Regions from separate parts of the Homo sapiens genome. Here all the other regions are linked to region 3. The links are contacts of gene promoters, found by promoter capture Hi-C in blood cells and fetal thymus (Javierre and others, 2016). All regions are on one chromosome and are shown on one strand. The core of a region is centred on a gene start or on the middle of the fragment in contact, and the rest is flanking DNA. Distances in the headings are between cores, read along the strand shown.

What was found. The method cuts DNA at HindIII sites, captures the fragments that hold promoters and counts their contacts. A CHiCAGO score of 5 or more calls a contact.
Region 1: a fragment that was not itself captured here is called in contact with the fragment with the promoter of NR4A3 in region 3 in 3 of 17 cell types (M0 macrophages, M2 macrophages and M1 macrophages); the score reaches 10.0 in M0 macrophages.
Region 2: a fragment that was not itself captured here is called in contact with the fragment with the promoter of NR4A3 in region 3 in 2 of 17 cell types (M0 macrophages and M1 macrophages); the score reaches 7.4 in M0 macrophages.
Region 4: a fragment that was not itself captured here is called in contact with the fragment with the promoter of NR4A3 in region 3 in 1 of 17 cell types (M0 macrophages); the score reaches 7.0 in M0 macrophages.
Region 5: a fragment that was not itself captured here is called in contact with the fragment with the promoter of NR4A3 in region 3 in 3 of 17 cell types (fetal thymus, erythroblasts and total CD4 T cells); the score reaches 6.2 in fetal thymus.
Region 6: a fragment that was not itself captured here is called in contact with the fragment with the promoter of NR4A3 in region 3 in 3 of 17 cell types (M0 macrophages, M2 macrophages and M1 macrophages); the score reaches 7.0 in M0 macrophages.
Region 7: a fragment that was not itself captured here is called in contact with the fragment with the promoter of NR4A3 in region 3 in 2 of 17 cell types (M0 macrophages and M2 macrophages); the score reaches 6.0 in M0 macrophages.

The regions. Positions count from the first base shown.
Region 1 is chr9:99,358,862-99,361,805 of GRCh38, reverse strand. All of the region lies in intron 5 of NAMA (non-protein coding RNA, associated with MAP kinase pathway and growth arrest), which reads left to right. LOC124902232 (a long non-coding RNA gene) reads right to left here and starts at 2,474. Exons shown (of 3, transcript XR_007061692.1): 1 at 2,169-2,474; 2 at 306-435. The HindIII fragment of the contact is 2,508 bases long and covers 318-2,825 here.
Region 2 is chr9:99,318,873-99,321,572 of GRCh38, reverse strand. No RefSeq gene overlaps it. Among named protein-coding and RNA genes, the nearest start is that of NAMA, 55 kb to the left of the region's middle. The HindIII fragment of the contact is 1,803 bases long and covers 453-2,255 here.
Region 3 is chr9:99,820,388-99,823,167 of GRCh38, reverse strand. NR4A3 (nuclear receptor subfamily 4 group A member 3) reads right to left here and starts at 1,283. Exons shown (of 8, transcript NM_006981.4): 1 at 761-1,283. RefSeq lists an enhancer at 53-565 and a silencer at 1,140-1,189. The HindIII fragment of the contact is 5,731 bases long and covers 261-2,780 here.
Region 4 is chr9:99,339,683-99,342,598 of GRCh38, reverse strand. No RefSeq gene overlaps it. Among named protein-coding and RNA genes, the nearest start is that of NAMA, 34 kb to the left of the region's middle. The HindIII fragment of the contact is 629 bases long and covers 1,279-1,907 here.
Region 5 is chr9:100,327,476-100,330,275 of GRCh38, reverse strand. It overlaps TEX10 (testis expressed 10), which reads left to right. Exons shown (of 15, transcript NM_017746.4): 6 at 107-345; 7 at 1,001-1,136; 8 at 2,314-2,489. Among named protein-coding and RNA genes, the nearest start is that of TEX10, 24 kb to the left of the region's middle. The HindIII fragment of the contact is 5,792 bases long and covers 1-2,800 here.
Region 6 is chr9:99,376,052-99,378,940 of GRCh38, reverse strand. No RefSeq gene overlaps it. Among named protein-coding and RNA genes, the nearest start is that of NAMA, 2.2 kb to the right of the region's middle. The HindIII fragment of the contact is 7,833 bases long and covers 1-2,889 here.
Region 7 is chr9:99,402,542-99,405,445 of GRCh38, reverse strand. The region is part of intron 2 of LOC107987011 (a long non-coding RNA gene); the gene reads left to right. Among named protein-coding and RNA genes, the nearest start is that of NAMA, 29 kb to the right of the region's middle. The HindIII fragment of the contact is 6,505 bases long and covers 1-2,904 here.

The DNA of each region.
Region 1 (2,944 bases), core at 322-2,821, 460 kb after region 3:
GAAAAAGGTTTTCGCAGGAGGAAACTTCTCTAAACCTCTCTAGCATCCTGGAGATTAAAATAAGTTATTTTTTTCTCTGCAAAAGAGATGAGGTGCTCTGATACCTGAGGGTGGAGTACTGGACCCTTTACATGATTAAGATCCAGAAAATATGCTTTTTGCCTACAGCATTGTATGTCCCGTGACCAGCCAGTAGTGATCCATTAAACAATGTTACTCAAGGTGGATTCACTAAGCACCCACTCTGTGCTAGGCCATACTTCCCAGGCACTGGGGAGCAAAGGTGAGAAAGATCCAGGACTTACCCTCAAGAAGCTTATAGTCCAGTGGGAGAGACCATCACAAGCAAAAAGAAAAATTAAATCCATGCACTCAGGGCTCCAGGAGAACTTTGCTGTGAGTGCACTAGCTGTCCGGGAGCATCTGGGGTGGCGTCTGCAAGGAAGGGATGCTTCGGATGAGTTTTCAAGGATACACAGGATTTTATGAAGTGGCAAAGGCAGGAGTGGGAAGGGATCTGTGCATGCAAAGTTCTGGGAAAGATGTGGAAAAGTTTTGTTTATTTAAGGAACTATGAGAACTTTGACGTGACCAGAGGAGCTACCATGCAGGCAGGGAAGTGCAAAGGATGAATCTAGAGCAGAGGTTTTAACCAGGGACAGTTTTGTACCCCAGGGACACTTGTTTGTCACAAAGAGAGGAGCAGCAGTGCTACTAACATCTATAGCGCAGAGGCCAGGAATGCTGCTAAACATCCTACCATACTACCGTGTGGACAGCTCCCACAACACCATGATCTGGTCCACAACGTCAATACTGCTGAGACAGAGAAACCCTGAGCATGGTAGGGTGTTTAGGAGTATCCCTGGCCTCTCTGCCCACTACAGAGAAGCAGCAGCCACACCACGAAAAAATGGAGTTCTGTTAGGGGCACTGTGCTTTCTGAGGGTCACACAGAGAAGGCATCCAGGGGAAGGAAGCCAGGGGAGAGTTGAGCTTTCAGATTCTGCAATCTGGAGTCCTCTATAGCTGTGTTTCAGCTAGCCCTCCCAGCTTTATTTTCTGTACATGTTTGATAAGCCTGCATCCAGTATCTGCCTCCAAATTGTTGACAAAAATGTTAAATGCAAAAATTTCAGGGCAAATAATGACTTAGACTCAAATAATGCCATTCAGTTTATGGGCATTTTGCATCCTTCATCTCATTTATATTCATTTTACAAAACAGAAAAATGAAGCTGGGAGATGTTCTGCAATCTAGGAATTATTTAACTATAACACGTTCAGCTCCCATCTCTTCTCCTAGGCTGGTCCCTGAGTGCTCCAAGGACCCATGCATCTGACCATAGGGGATGCTGGGAGTATCCTCCATCCTGGCCTGAAAGAGCTCCCTTTCAGCTTCCTGGATTCATATCTGTGTGAGTGGCTAAGGGCAGGTTCCCTGGTCTCCCTCTGCCCCTAGCTGTGACACTCACATACCCGTCTGACTACAGGGGACTCTCTCCCTCCCTGAGGCTGAATTGGTAAGAGGACCTCTCATGGATAGCAGGCAGGGACAGCTGCTCAGCTCATGTTTTCTGGCCAAGAAGCATTACTGACCCTGTGATTTGGCACTTCATCCAAACTGGCAGATGGGTACAGGTGCCTTGCCGTGATGCTGCTTCCTCTCCACCAAGCATGCCTGACCATTAAATCACCCAGCAGAGGACAGCACCAGTCAGCTGAGGGGTGGGCTCTTTTCAAGTGGAACCCCAAAATACTGCTAATCTGAAATGTCACTGTTCTCAGGGACAGCACGAATGAACCATGCCAAGTCACACACTGCAGAAACACTCTCAATAATCAACACTAGGTGTTCTAACAGTTTGTTCAAGCCTGTTCATCTGTGGTTTAGAAGTTTATAACATGACAATCTTTTACTCCAATAGCTTTCTGAAAACTGACTTCCCATATTCCCAAAGCCATCGCCAGCTCCCAGCTTTGTCATTCAGGAAAAAGAGTATGCACCTCCCCTTCATCCTCCTCATCTCTCACCATCATTAAGTACAAGCCCAAGGAGAAGAATCAAGGGCAATGAATCTTCATCAAACAATAAAATCCTGCCTGGTACCAGACCTACCTGTGCCATCCAAGCACTGCCTGCCCTGTCCCTCCATTAAACATCTTACCCTTGCTGCTGGTGGCTCCCGGGGCACTGTCCTTTCCGTGGCTCCTCCTCCCACCGGCATGGCCCAGCGGCTCTCTCCTGCTGCTCTGGCTCCGTCCCTCTCCAATAACATTGCTCCTTCTCTGGCAGGGTCCAGCCACTTTGTCACAAGCTACATCTATGGCGAGCAACGACTCCCGGCTGCAGGGTGAGACAGATAAGAGGATAAGAGGGAGCAGGAGCAGACGGAGAAAGAAGGTGGCAAGACAGAGCAGGCGAGAGATAGTGGTGGCTAAGTCTAGGGTGCTGATTATGGAGTAAAGGGAAAAGGAGGCATGAAAGCTGAGCCCGTGTTGAAAAGAATGTCAAAGGGAGCTCAAGCACTGGGCGGGGTGAGGGCAGAAGAGGGGTCCTTTCCAACCCTGGCACCTTTAAACTGTACAGGGGCTACCCTGGCTTGGAGCCATGCCATGCCTCTGATCCTAGGGAGTAAGAATCTCTTTTTGGGGGTGCAGGGCAACAGCACCCATTTCTCCATGAGCCACGTGCTTGCGTTTTCCAGTGGGATGCTCTCCAGGGTCATCTGGGTCCTCTTGCCTTGTGCTTGTTCATCACCTGAGCATGATTCTTGCCTGCTCAGCAGGGCGGTAGGGGGTTGTGAGCTCACAGCCCAGAAGCTTGACCCCTGTGGGGGCTCGGCATTGGTCCCTGGGACTCTGTGGCAGTGAGGCAGCCACACAGTGTCGAGTGGCTACTCTGTATGAGGGGATTTCTAAAAATACATCTGTCCTGCTTCTC
Region 2 (2,700 bases), core at 105-2,604, 500 kb after region 3:
CCCACCATTACTGGCTTTGAAGATGGAGGAAGAGGCCATGAGCCAAGAAATGCAGGTGACCACTAGAAACTGGAAAAGAGGGGAAAATGGATTCTCCTCTAAAGCCTGCAGAAAGAATACAGCCCTGTCAACACTTTGATCTTAACCCAGTGAGACCTGTGTCTGACTTCTAACTTACAGAACCATCAGATAATATATTTGTGTTGTTTTAAGCCACCCTGTTTGTGGAAATTGTTACAGCAGCAATGGAAAGCAACACAAAGTTCAATAAATATTTGTTTAATTAATCTGTTGTAGTGATTTTTAATCATTTTATTTCTAAAAGAGGTATTATATCAACTCAAATCTCACAGAGAGTCGTATTTAGAAACATTTTCTTTATGGAGATAAGAAGAAATATAAATTTTCTTTCTTTTCATTCATATATACATTCAAACAATTTTTTTAAAGCTTAAAGAAGGAGAGAAGTTCATTCACAACCTCACTGAGATCTAACTACTTTCATTTTTTCTTCTTTTCCATCCCTGATTGTAGGTGCAAATAATTTTACTATTAAAGTCATAGCAGAAATATAGTTGAATATTCTTTAATATTTAATATTGCATGATAAATATTTTCTATAGTTCTATTGTTTTCATAATTGCCATTGTAATCATTGCTTTATATTATTCCATTAAGTCGGGACACAAAAATTTACTTCTGTTCCTATTCCATGAATCAGTTGAGTTGTTTCAAGCATTTTTCCTTATACTTTAAGAAAATATTAGACCGGGCACCGTGGCTCATACCTGTAATCCCAGCACTTTGGGAATGCATTGCTTGAGGTCAGGAGTTCAAGACCAGCCTGGCCAACATGGTGAAACCCTGTCTCTACTAAAACTACAAAAATGAGCCAGGTGTGGAGGCACACACTGGTAATCCCAGCTACTCAGGAGGCTAAGGCATGAGAATCCCTTGAACCCAGGAGGCAGAGGTTGTAATCAGCTGAGATCGCACCACTGCACTCCAGCCTGGGTGACAGAGTGAGACTCCATCTCAAATTAATTTTTTCTTCATTTAAACTTTTCTGTTGAATTACCTGCAAAGCAGATTTCCATAATTGGAATAACTAAAAGAAAGAATCAGAGTGGCAGCTCTGGCTCTTGAAGCTCACTAAGGTAATTCCAAGAAGACTGGAGAGGAGTTTTCTAGTTTCACAATTATTTTTGTCAGGATTTGGGGTCTAGAATAGTTGCTTATATTGCATTGCATTGATTATGATTATGAAATGTATAAATGCATTTATACATTTGTTATTTTATTAGTTATATATTTTTAGAAAAATATGCTTATAGCTTTTGCTCATTTACCTATTAGAGACTTGATTATTTTCTTATAAATAACTTTTTAAATACTCTTTAAAAAATGTAAATCTCAACTTTCTGTCAAATTTATATACATGTTTTGTGATCTAGTTTGCTTTTCAATTTTAGCTACACAGGTTTGCATTTGTAGTTTATTTGCTTGTGTCATTTTTTTAGGAAAAATAAAATCAAAATATCAAAAACAAAATGAAAATTTATGTTATCTGAACTCTGTAGTGGATTAGGCAATTCAGAATAAATCTAAAAGTTTGAAATTGAATATTATATGAATAATCTGTATGGTAGCTTTCAATTTTAGTCTGATAGCGCATTATATAATTTATAACACAAATATAAATTTATTATTTGTTACAGAACATGTAGCTCATTTAATTTTTGTATCTCTTGACAAAGCTATAATTTGAAAACAAGCAAAGTCTATTTTAAAATTAAATTAATTCAGGGCAAACTAACCTCTACTTTTTTTTCTTAACATGTTTTTCTAATTCCAAAAGTAGTATGTGTTTATTTTACAAAAATTAAAAATGACAGAAAAGAATTTAAACATAAATAAATTTCAACCCTGTGCTCATCATACAGAAATACCTCCTGTTAACACTGAGGTGTATTCTTTCAATCTTTTTGCAAACTGTGTGTGTATAAAAATATTAATTAAATTTTGATTAGGCTATTTTGCATCATTTTTTTTACCTAATATTTTCGATGAGAGTTCTTCCATTTTATTAAATACGTTTGAACCAATTGGATAATGAACTCTTAAAGGAAGTTTTCTCATTCCTTAGCAGAAGAGTGAGTCCATTTTTTTTGCCCTGGATTCTGAGATCAAGTTCATTGAGACTCCCAGGAATAGCCAACCACAGAAAGAGATGCCTGTTGTGGAGAACCAAAGCTTTCCCTGCGGCAGCTCTATGTCACACACCCCACCAACTCTGTCCACCTCCCAGAAGTCCATGCACATTGTGTTCTGAGGTGCTACTTATTTTTAGGTAATGTTTTGCTCCTGCTTCTGCAGCTGTTTTTAATCACAAGCCTTGGGCACTGCATCCTAAAGAAACTCTGGCAGAGACAAAGGTGAAAAGAAGGAGGGAGAAGGACATGTCCAAACATCTTGGACATGATATTGACAGAAAGGGAACTTATCCCCATAGAATTTCACATTTATTACTGTGCCGTGACAGAAGTAGTAGAGGCTGCAATACCAGACAAGCCTTGGTTGGAGTCCGCATCTCCCTCTTAATTGCCAGTTGAGTGACCTTGGAGAAGCCACTTAACTGAATTCCAATCTTCTCCATATAACAGTAAATATGCCAAGTTGTAAGGGTTCAATGACTATGTA
Region 3 (2,780 bases), core at 34-2,533:
ACCGAGCCAACGTCCAGAGGAGAGGGACACCGTCCCCACACGTGTCAGTGTGCGGGAGTCGCCAATTACACCCGATTTACCTCCTAAGGGAAAAGTGTAAACCGGCATGTCAGCGACGACAGGCAGACGTGCCTAGTGGAACCCCAGGCTCATTTCAATACAATAAGCCACATTCCTACAATTACGCCCTCTTTCCTGAGGTCCTCCGAGTGCGTCTGCAAACTCTGGCCGTCGCTGCCTAGGCCCTTCCCTCCTAAGCTTCCTTCCAGAGAACCAGCTCGGTGCCACCATTAGCAACATTTACTTGGACCCACCAGAGCTCCTATTTTCAATCCTACTTAAAAGGCAGGAAAATTACTGCCGTTCATCACCGGAGCTGCAACTCCCTGCCGCTGCCGCTGCCGCCGCCGCCGCCGCCGCCGAGAGCATCATTACCATGACAACTAGAGCCGAAATACCCTGAATTACATCGCTGGAGCCGCTATAGCACAAATCCCGGTCCTCCTCTTTGTTAGAGGCTTTTCGCCTCTTCGAGTGGGGGGAGGAATCCCACGAGCTCCAGAGATCCCCGCGGGCCCACTACAGGGGAAAAGTTTCAGATCAGAACCTACGGGCCGCTGGGCTAGCAAAGCCGGAGCCGGGCGGCAAGGTCAGGGGAGGGAACCCCACACTCAAAGTTGTCAATTTCAGGAGCGACGCTTCCCAGCAAGCCAACTTTTTTAGCAAGTCCCCTTATTAACTGGGCGAATCTCATACGTACTTGAGTGCTGTGGCGGTTCCGTCTTTAGAGCGAGTTTCTAGAGAGCTGTCCCGAAATCTGCACTGGGGGGGAGTCACAGCTGCTGTCCCGGAAGGGCTGCGGTGTACAAGCCCAGCGGCTCCCGGAGGCGGTGAGCGGCTGGTGGGGGATGCTGCGATCCCGACTCATGGGAGAGCACAGCCGAGAGGTTCCGCGGGCGTCCTGGCTTGGGCTGTGACCAGGGGGGAGGATGCCGCCGCTGTTCCCACCTCCACGGCCACTGCCGGCACCGTCAGCGTTGCAAAGTGAGCCCGGGAGGGGCGTCCAGCTGCGGCGCCGCGCTGCACCGGCAAGGGCTCAGGGCAAGAGGGGTGTGAGCGCGCGGGAGAGCGAAGTGTGTGTGCGGAGCCTGTGTGCGCGCTTGTGTCTGTGTGTGCGAGTGAGGGAGCGGGTGTGAGCGCGTCTGTGTATGGGGAGCGGAGGAGGAGCAGGAGCTGGAGGGGTGGGGGGCGGGAGGCAGGAGACTCCGCTCTCCCGGCTGCGCGTTCGCTCGCTCTCTCGGCACGTCATTTATGCCACAGGAGCCCTAGCGGCCTCTCCATAGAGTGCCTGGAATGCGAGACGTCAATGTGACGCCATGGGACGCTACGTCACCCTCCTCCTCCCTCCCCTGGCCCAGCCGGTTCCGCGTGTGCGAGGGAGGGTGTGTGTGTTCGTGTGCGCGCGCGCGCGCGCGCGTTCCTCGGCCAGTCGCACGGCCGCACAATGGAAACTCCGCCGCACGGCCGGCCCCGGCCTGGGGGCTTCTCTTTTTGCAGCGGAACCGCTCGCCAGGGCGTGCGTCTGCGGGAGGGTGCAGCGGCCTGCCCACGGGTCAGGCGGGACCGCCCAGCTGTCAGGCTCGGGTGGAGTAGAGTTGGAGGAGTGCTGCTGGCGCGCCTCCGAGGCTGCCCCGAGGCACGGAGCCAGGGCGAGGGGGGTAAGGGAGAGGACAGCTCTTCCGAAAGGGAAGGCTCCGCCAGCCAGCTTCTGACCAGCTCCAGTGACCTGGCAGCCGGTGCAGAAGGCGTCTGGCACCAGCCCGAAGACGCCCTGAGGTGCAGCTGCACTTTCCTCTTGCATAGGTTCTAAAGCTGTTTACGTTGCTCCGGTCCTCTGCGCCCAGGCTAATCCCCCCTCCCCGCATCATTTACTGGGTGCGTGTTTCACACAGGGATGCAGATGGTTCCGGGGATAAGGTTTGATTTCTTTACACGTACGGCGTGGGTTTCTTAACTGGACACGTTATAACCCAGCGAAGTGCACATCCATCATGCACACGCGCGCTGCAGCAGAAACTACTCTGTGTGTAAAACAAACACACACGTGTTGAACAGCTGAGCGGGTCTGACTATTGCAAATCATTCCTCCTCCCCGGCACCGGGTCAGAAATGGAACTCTCAACTAGCACTTTCACTTTTTGATGGTTGTAGATGCCCTCCGCCCACATCTCCCAAATTAAACATTTCGAAATCAATCAACAGGACTTATTAGTCAGTCCCTCGCTAGGGGATTTGCTTTGGTCTCCTCGGACACATTTGTCATGAAATGGTGTGCCGAAAGCCTGGGTGACTGTATGAAGGAGAGCAATTTCTTCCTGGAAATGATAAATTTAAGTGTAAATTTCTTGATGAAAACAAAATTTATCAGAGTTAAAGACCCCTAGTCCCAAAGGTTGCTGCTGAGTGAACGCAGTCTCTTTCAGAAATGAATTTTTGGACAGGAGAAAATATTTGAGTGAAACAATGCAGATAGAGTGGTCCCCATGTGGTCCGCTTGAATCACAAATACCGTTTTATATGTTTGACCTGTCCCAATTTGTGTGTGTGTGGCGGGGGCGGGGGGCGCTGCGCCGAGGGGAGATACAAGATTCCTTTGTAGACAGCACACATTTCAGAATCGAAGAAGGTTCGAGCTAGGACCAGAAACTTGAAAACAAACTACATATAGGTAAATATGGCATGTATATCTTTCTTCGCCTCCACTTCCAATTCAGACACGG
Region 4 (2,916 bases), core at 344-2,843, 480 kb after region 3:
TTTTTTCACAACCGAAATAATGTTTTCATTTGTCACCACTAGATGACACACCAGTGTGAAGCATCCTGGATGTTTCAGACATACTCAAGATGTTCCTTATGCTGTGCCCCCTCGTAAGTCATCTGCCTCCTTTCTTCGCAGGACCTATACCTAACCCCGTGTGGGTTCTTCTGTGTTTCTTATTGGCTTTGGATGCCATTAGCTGTTTATTGAAGATTCATGTGGAGATGAGCAGAAGTGAGCTGGAAGAGTCTGAAACTTTGGGTTAGGTTTCTTGTCTCTGACCCTGTTTCATCAAAGCCATTATTTCCTTTACACTGGATGCTTATTTTCCTGCAATGTTTGGTCCATGGTGTTCACAGCAAGTCCTTTTAAATTACAGGCTCACTGGCAAATAGCAAATTCTGCTTCCCAAGCCTTGATCACCCATCTCGACTCTAGCCATTGCTCTTAACCAGGAGTTGATCTCGGAAAATGGAAATGGTGGATTTCACCTTTAGCTCCAACTTCCCAGATGTTCTCTAGGACGCGTTGGTCCTCCACAGGGACATTCCTATCTATCCAGTGGCCCATCCAGCCTTAGAGCGGGTCATTCTAATCAAAGGCTCCTTTCGGGATGGAAGCACTCACATTTAGAGAAATCTTCCCTGCTCAAGCCCTGAGGTGATCCCTATTCCTCTCTCATTTTTCTCCAGATTTCACGGTGTGGTTCATAGTTTGTGGTTTGGGGCTGTGGCCTTTTCCTTGTTCCACTAAATAGGAAGAGTTTTCTTTCCCTCTGTTTTATTCATGTTTGTTTTCAGTGTGTTTCTAAGGAGAGACAAGAATTACAAATGCCTTTATGCTGCCATCTTTAGCCAGAAGTTTCAAAAGCCTTTTGAAACCCAAATCCTTTCATTTATGTATTATCCTTCTGTATTGTGTATGCTTCTATAAATGTCTTCAAGGCCTGCTATGAAATAAGGTGAGGGTATCTGTATATACATTTTTAAATGTCATGTTCTTCCACTTGCCCCTCTCCACACTTTGATTTCTGTTTATCTCTTTGGAGGTCTCCTCATCTTTAATTTTCTTTTTTGTCATTTCTTTCATCCGATCTGGAAACCCTTCTATCCCCTAAAAGTGCTCAAAGAGATATTCTCTGGGGACCCCTTCTCCTCCTCTAGCCAGAATACACTTGCCAGATGTGTGTTAGTTCTCTCCCTTGGCAGCCAAATTGTATAGGTTCCTATAGAATTTCCCTCATTGTCCATGTGTCCTGAATCTCTAAACCAAGCTTGTCTAGTCCACAGCCTACAGGCCACATGCAGCCTAGGATGACTTTTTTTCTTTTCTTTTTTTTTTGAGACAGAGTCTCTCTCAGTCGCCCAGGCTGAAGTGCAAGTGGCGCGATCTCCGCTCACAGCAAGCTCCGCCTCCCGGGTTCACGCCATTCTCCTGCCTCAGCCTCCCGAGTAGCTGGGACTACAGGCGCCCGCCACTACGCCCGGATAATTTTTTTTTGTATTTTTAGTAGAGATGGGGTTTCACCGTATTAGCCAGGATGGTCTCGATCTCCTGACCTCGTGATCCGCCTGTCTCAGCCTCCCAAAGTGCTGGGATTACAGGCGTCAGCCACCGCGCCCAGCCCCTAGGATGACTTTGAATACAGCCCAGCACACATTTGTAAACGTTCTTAAAACATTATGAGATTTTTCTGCAATGTATTTGTTTTAAGCTCATCAGCTATCGTTAGTGCTAGTGTATTTTATGTGTGGCCCAAGACAATTCCTCATCCATTGTGGTCCAGGAAAGCCAAAAGATTGAACACCCCTGCTCTAAACAAAACAGCAGTGTGGTGTGGCTCTCCCAAAACCCTCTCGACTGCTGCTGTGGAAACTGCTGCTTTCTGGCCTTGATTGAAAGCTTCTGGGAGAGCTATTTTAGGCAGCCCATACTGTGTCCCTTGTCTGAAGACCTGCTGTATATTATTGAGATGAGCCCCCAGATAGCTGAAGAGCCCCCTCATTCCTCCCACCACATCCCCGCTGGGGCCGCTGAGCAGTAGAAGCATGGCAGAAGCAACATCCTGCTCACCAGCGTTCCCACCTGCTTCCTGCATCTGTTTTCTTGGGTTCCTGATCCAAGGGGAAAGGAAAGATGATTCAACCTTGCGTGTATGTTTATCCTGCTGGTGGAATGTCATTAAATATGGAAAATCATGCAAGTAGAGTTCCAAAGAAATGGATCACTGGGTTGATGATCCCCTGGACTCATTGTGCTCGTGGCTGAGAAATCTGGTTTCGCAAAAAAAGATACTTTGGGCCAGGCGCGGTGGCTCACGCCTGTAATCCTAGCACTTTGGGAGGCCAAGGTGGGTGGATCATGAGGTCAGGAGATCGAGACCATCCTGGCCAACATAGTGAAACCCCGTCTCTACTAAAATTACAAAAATTAGCCGGGCATGGTGGCACCTGCCTGTAACCCCAGCTACTCAGGAAGCCGAGGCAGGAGAATCACTTGAACCAGGGAGTTGGAGGTTGCAATGAGCGAGATCGCGCCACTGCACTCCAACCTGGTGACAGAGCGAGACTCCATCTCTAACAAACAAACAAACAAACAAACAACAACAACAAAAAGATACTTTCAGGACCCTGAGGAATATGAGGGAGGATAGTCATGACCTGTTGCTGATGTAAACAAAACAGGAGGTATAAGAGCATGGGATTTACTGGCAATAGCTTCTACGAAGAAGCTCCTATTCACAAAATCCTTGAGCGGTACATTTTATACCTTATCTCATTCAGTCTTTCCAATAATCCCACAAGCAATTACCCCCATTTTATGCACAAAGATATTAAGGATTCTTATAGAGAGAGGAAAAGACCAGAAGAGTATTTGATTACACTGTTTGGTGATTACGTGTTAAAAACAAAA
Region 5 (2,800 bases), core at 197-2,696, 510 kb before region 3:
TAGAAGGGAATTTTTTAAAACTCCATTGATAGATTATTTTAAGTATTCTAATGAAGCAGGCATGGTAGACGTAATGCTTTATAGATGTGTGTGTCTTTGTTTCTAGCATCAAGCATTGCACAGTTCTCTCCAATAACATAGATCATCTCTTACTGAATTTAACACTGTCTGATATCATGGTCTCCCTGGCAAATGCGTCAACTTTGCAGAAGGATTGCAGTTGGATAGAAATGATAAGGAAATTTGTAACAGAGACCCTTGAAGATGGCTCTAGGCTAAATAGTAAGCAACTGAACAGATTGCTGGGAGTATCCTGGAGGTTAATGCAAATACAGCCAAACAGAGGTAGGTGATGCTACTTTGCCCTTATTTAAGAGTGGAGCTCTTACATGTGCTATCTTAAGGTCTAGCTTTGAAATGATGGCTTGTAAACATTCCATGTAGTCAGGCTAATTGTATTCAAGCCATAAAAGGTAGCTACTGTCTACTTGAACACTGAAATTGTTTATGGCTCAGAGTATCTCTAAGTGGGTAGGTCCACTCTGAAGCAGATTGATAAAGATTTCTACCCTCTTCTGATCTAGTTTGGCTAGAACTTGAGAACTTTTTCCCTTGATTGATATGGCATGAATCTTCCCTGTCTCTTTACCTTTTTTCTAGCTTAAGGTTAAGTTATATTAAGTCAGTTTTAGAGTGACTTACTAATTCTTTGATTTTAAAACAAAGTTTTCCTATTTGGTTCCCATCTAAATTGCCTTTCTAATATTCTGGTTTTTGTCATTCCTAGGTTTGTTGTTAAGAAAATTTATACTGTAACTACTGATTGGTTTGACTTTTTTATTAGGCTATTGCTATAGGACTTCAATGGTAGTTGTCTATTTGTGGCTAAAATTGGCTTTGCCATAGGAAGAAAGTAAAGTACTTCGGTGCATTCAGAGGAATTTGGGGGCTGTTAAACATTTTTTGATTCATATGCAAGTTGTTTTCTTTCTGTTTGTAGAGGACACAGAGACTCTTATTAAGGCAGTTTATACATTATATCAGCAGAGGGGCCTTATCCTTCCAGTTCGGACTTTGTTATTGAAGTTTTTCAGTAAAATCTATCAGACAGAAGAACTGAGATCTTGTAGATTCAGGTAAAATCTTGTTATTTTTCCTTTCTTTTTTCTCTTGCTGAGTTTTTCTGTAGTCTAAGTATTTAAATAATTTTAGAGAGATTAAATCTTTGGAGAAGTTCATTCTTTTTAATCCTACTTGTTTGCATTTAAGAAATGGTATAAAATTTTAAAAGATGCATACGTAATAGTGCCAGTAAACTTTATACCCATATCTGAACAGATAAAAGACTGCTTAGGCATGCATTTCTACCTGTCCACTTATAGCTAAGGGACAGTTGGAACAACCTCAGCCCTTTCTCTTCCCCTCCCATAAAAATTACGGAGGTTGAATCTCTAGCCATTAGTGACATATTGAGGCATATGGGATAAGAGTGAGGGCAATAGAAGATGAGAAAGTTTCTGGCTTAGTTTAGTGCTATCAGAGAGAGACAACAAAAGAGTGGACTAAGGAATTTTTCAATAAGGTGAGTTTGAGGTTTATTTGGCATAGTCAGAAATGTTTGAGAGGAAGATACAGATTTGGGATACCTCAACATATATAGGTAGTTGTTGTAACGTATTCTGGTATTTACTTTAAGCCAAGTTACTTTACATAATCTCAATAATCTTCATACTGCTACTGTGAGGTGGATACTGTTAGCTTCCATTTTACAGAAGGAAGCAGAAAATAAATAAATTGGTGAGTATTATGTAGCTAATGTATAGCAGAGCTGAGACTTAAGTTCAGGTCTATCTTGACAGCAAAGTCCATGATAGAATCACCAGCCTTTCAGGGGACCTAGTGAAAATGTTCACTGTTATTCAAGACATTTACACTCCAGCAAGTATTCTAAAGAAATAAAAATAGCACAAGTTTGAAGCTATTTTGTATGGGAGCAACTTATGGTGAATGTGTACATTTGTTAATATAGTATAATAACACCGATTAGGATAAATAGTTAAGTGTCTCTATCCTTCAAAATAAAAATACAATTTAGATACTGCCCCAGTTAACATTAATTTAGTGGGTAAAGCCTTGGAAAATGATGCTGGCATCTTGTAGGTTCTCAAATGTTTAAATGAATAAATGTGGTATTATTGATACATAATTAGTCACTTTGTGATATATTTAAGTTAAAAAAAAATTTTTTTTTTGTTTAAATTTATTTCCCTTGTCTTTGAGTATTACATTTTATTCTTCTTTGGCCTTTCTAAGATATCGTAGTAAAGTGTTATCCCGTTGGCTGGCTGGCTTACCATTGCAACTTGCTCATCTTGGCTCCCGAAATCCTGAGCTCTCTACACAGCTTATCGATATCATTCATACCGCTGCAGCACGAGCAAATAAAGAATTACTAAAAAGTTTACAAGCTACTGCCCTCCGAATTTATGGTAAGAGTTCATTTGTTTAATGGTATGGGTAGTCATTGATCCACCCTGATATACAAAAGAAGTTTTTAAGGGGAGCTCTGTAATTTTGCCTTTCCCTTAGTCTGAATTAGTAATACCATGGTTAAATTGCCAGAACAAAACATCATACAGTAAATTCATTTTCAATATTTATTAGAATATAGAAGGTTAATGATTGTTGATGCTTATTGCATTCTTAAATTGTCTTTCAAACCACTTGCTATTCATAAATTCAAAACTAATCTGATACTTAAAAATTCCTTTGAAGCTCTGATGGCAAGACATATCTTTAT
Region 6 (2,889 bases), core at 149-2,648, 440 kb after region 3:
GTTCAAAAGTCAACTGAATATATATTTATATTTATATACAGTTTACATTAATCATAATTTCTATATTTGCAAATCTGCCTACTCATTAAGATTAATTTTTAACCCCCAAATCAATACATGCAGCACTTTTGCTGTGAGCAGAATGGCAAAAAATTGCAGCCACCCAATGTGCACATTCCCAGCTGAGGTCAAACAAGGCGACACTCTGCCTCCTTGTTTCAGCTCTCACACTATAAACAAGTGTCCTTTTGTGGTCTACTCGGTACCACATTTTTCACATTTTTGTGCTTTTTTGTTTGGTATTTCACTGTTTCAAATGGTCCCCCAGCATAGCACTGAAGTAAGCCCAGGGAGGCTGTGATGCTCCTTACAGAGAAAACAGCTGTGGTAGAAACGCTTCGTTCAGGCGTCAGTTACAGTGCTGCTGGCCATGAGTTCAGTGTCGATGAATCAGCAGTAATATTAAATAAGCTATCTTTAAACAGGTGAGTTCAATGTCAATGAATCAGCAATAATATTAAATAAGATGTCTTTAAACAGAAACGCACACATTATTAGGTTTTATTATTGACAGAATTGTAACCAGAGGCTCACTGGAACCTAACCCTGTTATTTCCCCTTTGAGCAGTGGTTCAGTATCTGCCAGTGCAGTGTTCCCGGAGGCTTTTTAGAACACAATGACTGCAAATAATAACAATACAAGGCAGACTGGGTATACATAAAATATAAGAAATTTTAAAATCGAGGCTCAGAGAGGAAGGAGAATCTGCCTAAATGGCCTGGATTTCATATCTGATGCAGAAGCCAGAGTTGGTCCCTGAACTCAGGTCTGTCTGAGTCCCTGCTCCCTCTACCACCACCACTGCCACCCCCCCACACTACCCCCACTGGTCAGGGGTTCATGGCCAGATGACTTGTACAGACAATGGCCGTTTGTGGAGTTTGGGTAAGGAGGACTAACACCAGATGTCTTTCACCTCTCCTTTGCTAATGCTGCTCTTTGTTTCTCCTCCTACCCTTTTTGCTCATTTGTTTTTGGATTATCCATAACCACTTTGCCATTGCATTGAAGGTCCTTCAGAACAAGTGAGCTTGCTGCAAAGCACAAACCTTTCCAAAGAGGTGTCTAGGGAAACAACAGGGCAGTCAGCTTGGAAATAAATGCAATCTGTTTTTTTTTTTTTTCTTTTTTTTTTTTTGAGACGGAGTCTCTCTGTCGCCCAGGCTGGAGTACAGTGGCGCCATCTTGGCTCGGCTCACTGCAAACTCCGCCTTCCGGTTCAAGCAATTCTCCTGCCTCAGCCTCCCAAGTAGCTGGGACTACAGGCGCCTGCCACTATGCCTGGCTAATTTTTGCATTTTTAGTAGAGATGGGGTTTCACCATGTTGGCCAGGCTGGTCTCGAACTCCTGACTTCAAGTGATCCACCTGCCTCAGCCTCCCAAAGTGCTGGGATTACAGGCGTGAGCCTCCGTGCCCAGCCTGCAGTCGATTTTTACATTCAAGTTCACACATGAGCCAGTGAAAATTCCCCTACTTATTCTTACTGAAATTTAAACTCTAGAACAGGGCAGGTGAGAGGAGAGGAGCTGAAGGAATATCTGCACCTTCCCTGACTCTACCTTGGCAGCCTTCAGCAATCCTGGAGAGTCTCACCCCTTCCCACAGAGGAGCAGGGACTCTAAGCATCTTCAAACAATCAGTGCCATTTTGTGGGAACTTAGATCCAATATATCCCTGTTCACGGGTCCCACAATGCTTAGAATGATGCACTGCCCTGAGGAGTTTGACAGACGTGGCAGAGGAGAGAGGCAGGAGGGAGGAGGAGAAGAGACACTTAACAAGTGTCTGTGAGGTGGCGTTTACATTTAGAATTCCCTTTCCTTTCAAAGGAATCTCCAGGATAGCCAAAGAGTCCAGCTTAAAGGTAGCCAGCCAGAAAAAGTGCCCAAACCACGCAGTGAGATCACACCTTTGAAGACCCCACCTTGGCATAGACTCTACGGCTTTCACGAATGATGCTGAGCTCTCAGCAGCACCAGAACCTCAGGCTCTGACACCCACAAAGCTGCAGGTCTCCAGGGCTGCTTGGGCCAAAAGGTGGGTTCTGGGCAGCCCCCTTCCTCCTGGTCCACTTCTAAACTACACTCTTCCCTGGGCATATCTGATTCATAAAGCCCAGGGCACGTGACTGAGTGACTGAAAACAACAGAAATTTATTGTTTTACATTTCTGGAGACAAGAAGTCCAGAATCAAGGTGTTGGCAGTGCTGCCCTCCCTCTGGAGGCTGTAGGGGACAATCCATTTTTTGCCTCTTCCAGCTCCGGAGCTGTAGACATTCTTCGATTTGTGGCCAAATTGCTCCAATCTCTGCCTCTCTGATCACAGTGCCTCCTTCTCCTCCCTCTCTGTGCTAAATCTCATTCTGCCTTACATTTATAAGGACATTGGCACTGGATTTAGAGCCCACCAGATAATTTGGGATGATCTTCTTCATATCAAGATCCTTCACATCTGCAAAGATCCTTTTTCCATATAAGGTAATAGTCACAGGTTCTGGGGATTAGGACATGGTACTTTTTTTTTTTTTTCCGGAGGAGGGTAACCATTCAACTCACTGTACCTGGCTATAGATTCAAACCACCAATGAGGCTTTTTATACAAGTACAGATATGGAAGCCTACTTAGACCAATGGAATTGAAATCTTTAGGGCTGTGGCATCTAGACTGCATTTTGTTGTTGTTGTCGTCAGCTTTCCAAGTATTGTGCTGCTTAGCCTGGCTTGAGGACCAGTGATTGTACAATCCACCTCTTTATACAGCTGAGACCAGAGGCCCAGACAGGGGCCAAGACTTCCTCAAGTCACATTGTACAGGCTTGGACCCCC
Region 7 (2,904 bases), core at 94-2,593, 420 kb after region 3:
CATGCCCATGTTTATTGCAGCACTATTCACAATAGCCAAGATATGGAATCAACCTAAGTGTCCACCAATGGATGAATGAATAAATAAATGTGGTTTAAATACACAATGAGATACTATTCAGTCATAAAAATGTATGAAATCCTGTCATTTGCAGCAATGTGGATGGAACTGGAGAACGTTATGTTAAGTGAAAGCAGCCAGGCACAGAAAGACAAATATCTTATGTTCTCACTCATGTGTGGGAGCTAAAAAAGTGGATCTCAAGGAGGTAGAGAGTAGAATGATGGTTACCAGTGGCTGGGAAGGGTAGGGGAAGAAGGGGATGAGGAGAAGTTTGTTGATGGGTACAAAAATACAGTTAGAAGGAGTAAGTTCTAATTTCAACAGTACAATAGGGAGACCACAGCTTTATAGTTAACAATAATTTATTGCATATTTCTAAATAGCTACGAGAATTGGAACATTCCCAACACAAGAAAAGATAAATGTTTGAGGTGATGGATACCCTGATTACCTTGATTTCATCATTAAACATTGTGTACACTTATCAAAATATCACCCCTACCCCATAAATATGTACAACTATGTCAATAAAAAATAAAACATATACAGAAAAAGAAGTAACACATTAATTAATAACAATTAATATATTAAGTATAAAGCAGTAATTTATGTCCATGTATAATTATTAATTAAATAAAGTAATTTATATTAATTCATTGAAAATGCAGGTAAGGGGCCAGGCGCGGTGGCTCACACCTGTAATCCTAGCACTTTGGCAGGCCAAGGCTGGCGGATCACGAGGTCAGGAGATTGAGACCATCTTGGCCAACATGGTGAAACCCCATCTCTACTAAAAAAAAATACATAAATTAGCTGGGCCTGGTGGTGCATGCCTGTAATTCCAGCTACTCAGGGAGGCAGCAGAATCACTTGAACCAGGGAGTCGGAGGTTGCAGTGGGCTGAGATCGCACCACAGCACTCCAGCCTGGTGACAGAGTGAGACTCCATCTAAAAAAGAAAGAAAGAGAGAGAGAGAGAGACAAAGAAAGAAAGAAAGAGAGAGAGAGAGAGAGAGAGAAAGAAAGAAAGAAAGAAAGAAAGAAAGAAAGAAAGAAAGAAAGAAAGAGAAAGAAAGAAGAGAAAAAAAGAATAAAAAAAGAAAATGCAGGTAAGGAAGAATTTTTTTAAATTTCCTGGAAAGTCCGTTTCCCAGAAAAAAACATAGCCATTATTTTGGTGTTTGTTCATTCAGAAGTTGTCCGATGGTCATGTGAAGAGTGTGTATGGGCATACTTTTCTTTCACAAAAATGCAACAGTATTGCAATTCAGTTTGCAGCCTGCCTTTTTCACATGGCAATATATGATGAGCACCTTCCCATGGGATCACATGTAGAATGAATGGTTTCTAAACCTTTGCAAACCTCGAAATCTGCAGCATGGAAGCACATAGGTGATGAAGCATAGGAGATGGCAAGGATCATGGGAAGCAAGCCATAGTATTTGAGCCCTGGTTTTTCCTCCTAGAGCTGGGTGACCCCTCTGAACCTTACCATTTTTATCTATGAACTAGGGATGTTACCACACCCCTACCCAGCAGACCTCGCAGGTCTGGGGTGAGTATCTATGCAGTGGCAGACATAAAGTGGTAGACTCTTAATATATTATTCAAACATAAGAGATCTGTAAAGACTCTGTGCCCCAAATTCCCCTCCTTTTGCTACTGAGAGCTCTTAGATAACATCCCCAAAATCTGAAGATTCCAGGCTTATCCCTGGGGTACCTGCCAGCCAGTCTTCCTGGTTGGTAATAATGAAGTTCTAACATTGGAATGGGGAGGAATTAAATCAGCCTGTCTGACTTGTCTGGCTTGTTTTACCACAATATTTTCCAGTCTTTTGGCTACTATGGGGCCCATGTTCCAAGCAGGCTGGGCATCTTTCACAGCTCCCTCCTCACAGTGGATCTCATCACCCCACGTCTCTGCCAGCTAACCCTGCCAACTTGCTCTTACCTCTGTTGCCTCTTAGAGTTGGATGCTGTCTTCTCTTGCAACAGACCCCTAGAATGTCCTCAATCCTCTGCCCCACCTTCCTGGACTAAGACGACACCACATTTTGCCAGGAGAGGAGGTGGTGTGGCTTTCCAGGGCTTCTTCAGGGCTTCTGATGGTGACTTTCCAGAAAGGCCACCCCAGTGCCCCAGGGCACCCTCTGGTTCTACCCTGCCTCCTCCATATACCCAAAGTGGCATATGGACACTTCGTCGCCAGCAGTGAGGCCCTGAATGATGGCCACCCTCACTTCCCAGGATCCCATCACAGCTGAAGGAGCTGTGAATTGAATTCCAGGCTGTTCCTTCTCTCCCTCCAATCCATTCATTTGCAGTTCCCTCTTCCTGAATCATTCTTCCCCCACCCGACACCCACAACCCTTCCCCATTCCCCAGACTCCCCCTTCCTCATCCTTGAGAACTGAGCTCAGACTGTGGGGCCTTTCTCATCCTGCAGGGCTACTTTAGGTGCTTATAGCCTCAAAGCATCTAGTACTTCTAATTACCACAGCAAATTCTAATTTTCTATTAACTTGTCTCTAAATTATGAGTTCCTTGAGAAGGAGACTGTGTCTTATTTTCTGTTATTGCCTAGAGCTGAACACATAATAGGTGCTTAGTAAATATTTGTGGAATTAATGACTGAACAAACTTAGTATGTCTTAGTCTCACAAGGGTCACTTCAACCCCCTTTTGTGCTTCTGGAGAATTTTTTTGGTAATCTAGAAATCCATCCATCCTTTCTCCTGCAGCTGAGCTATGAGCAAAAAAATCAAGGTGGGCAGACCTGACACTAACCTGCACCTACCCATTTGCCCCTGTGGCCTTCCCCAGAGGAAAAGTCTGATCT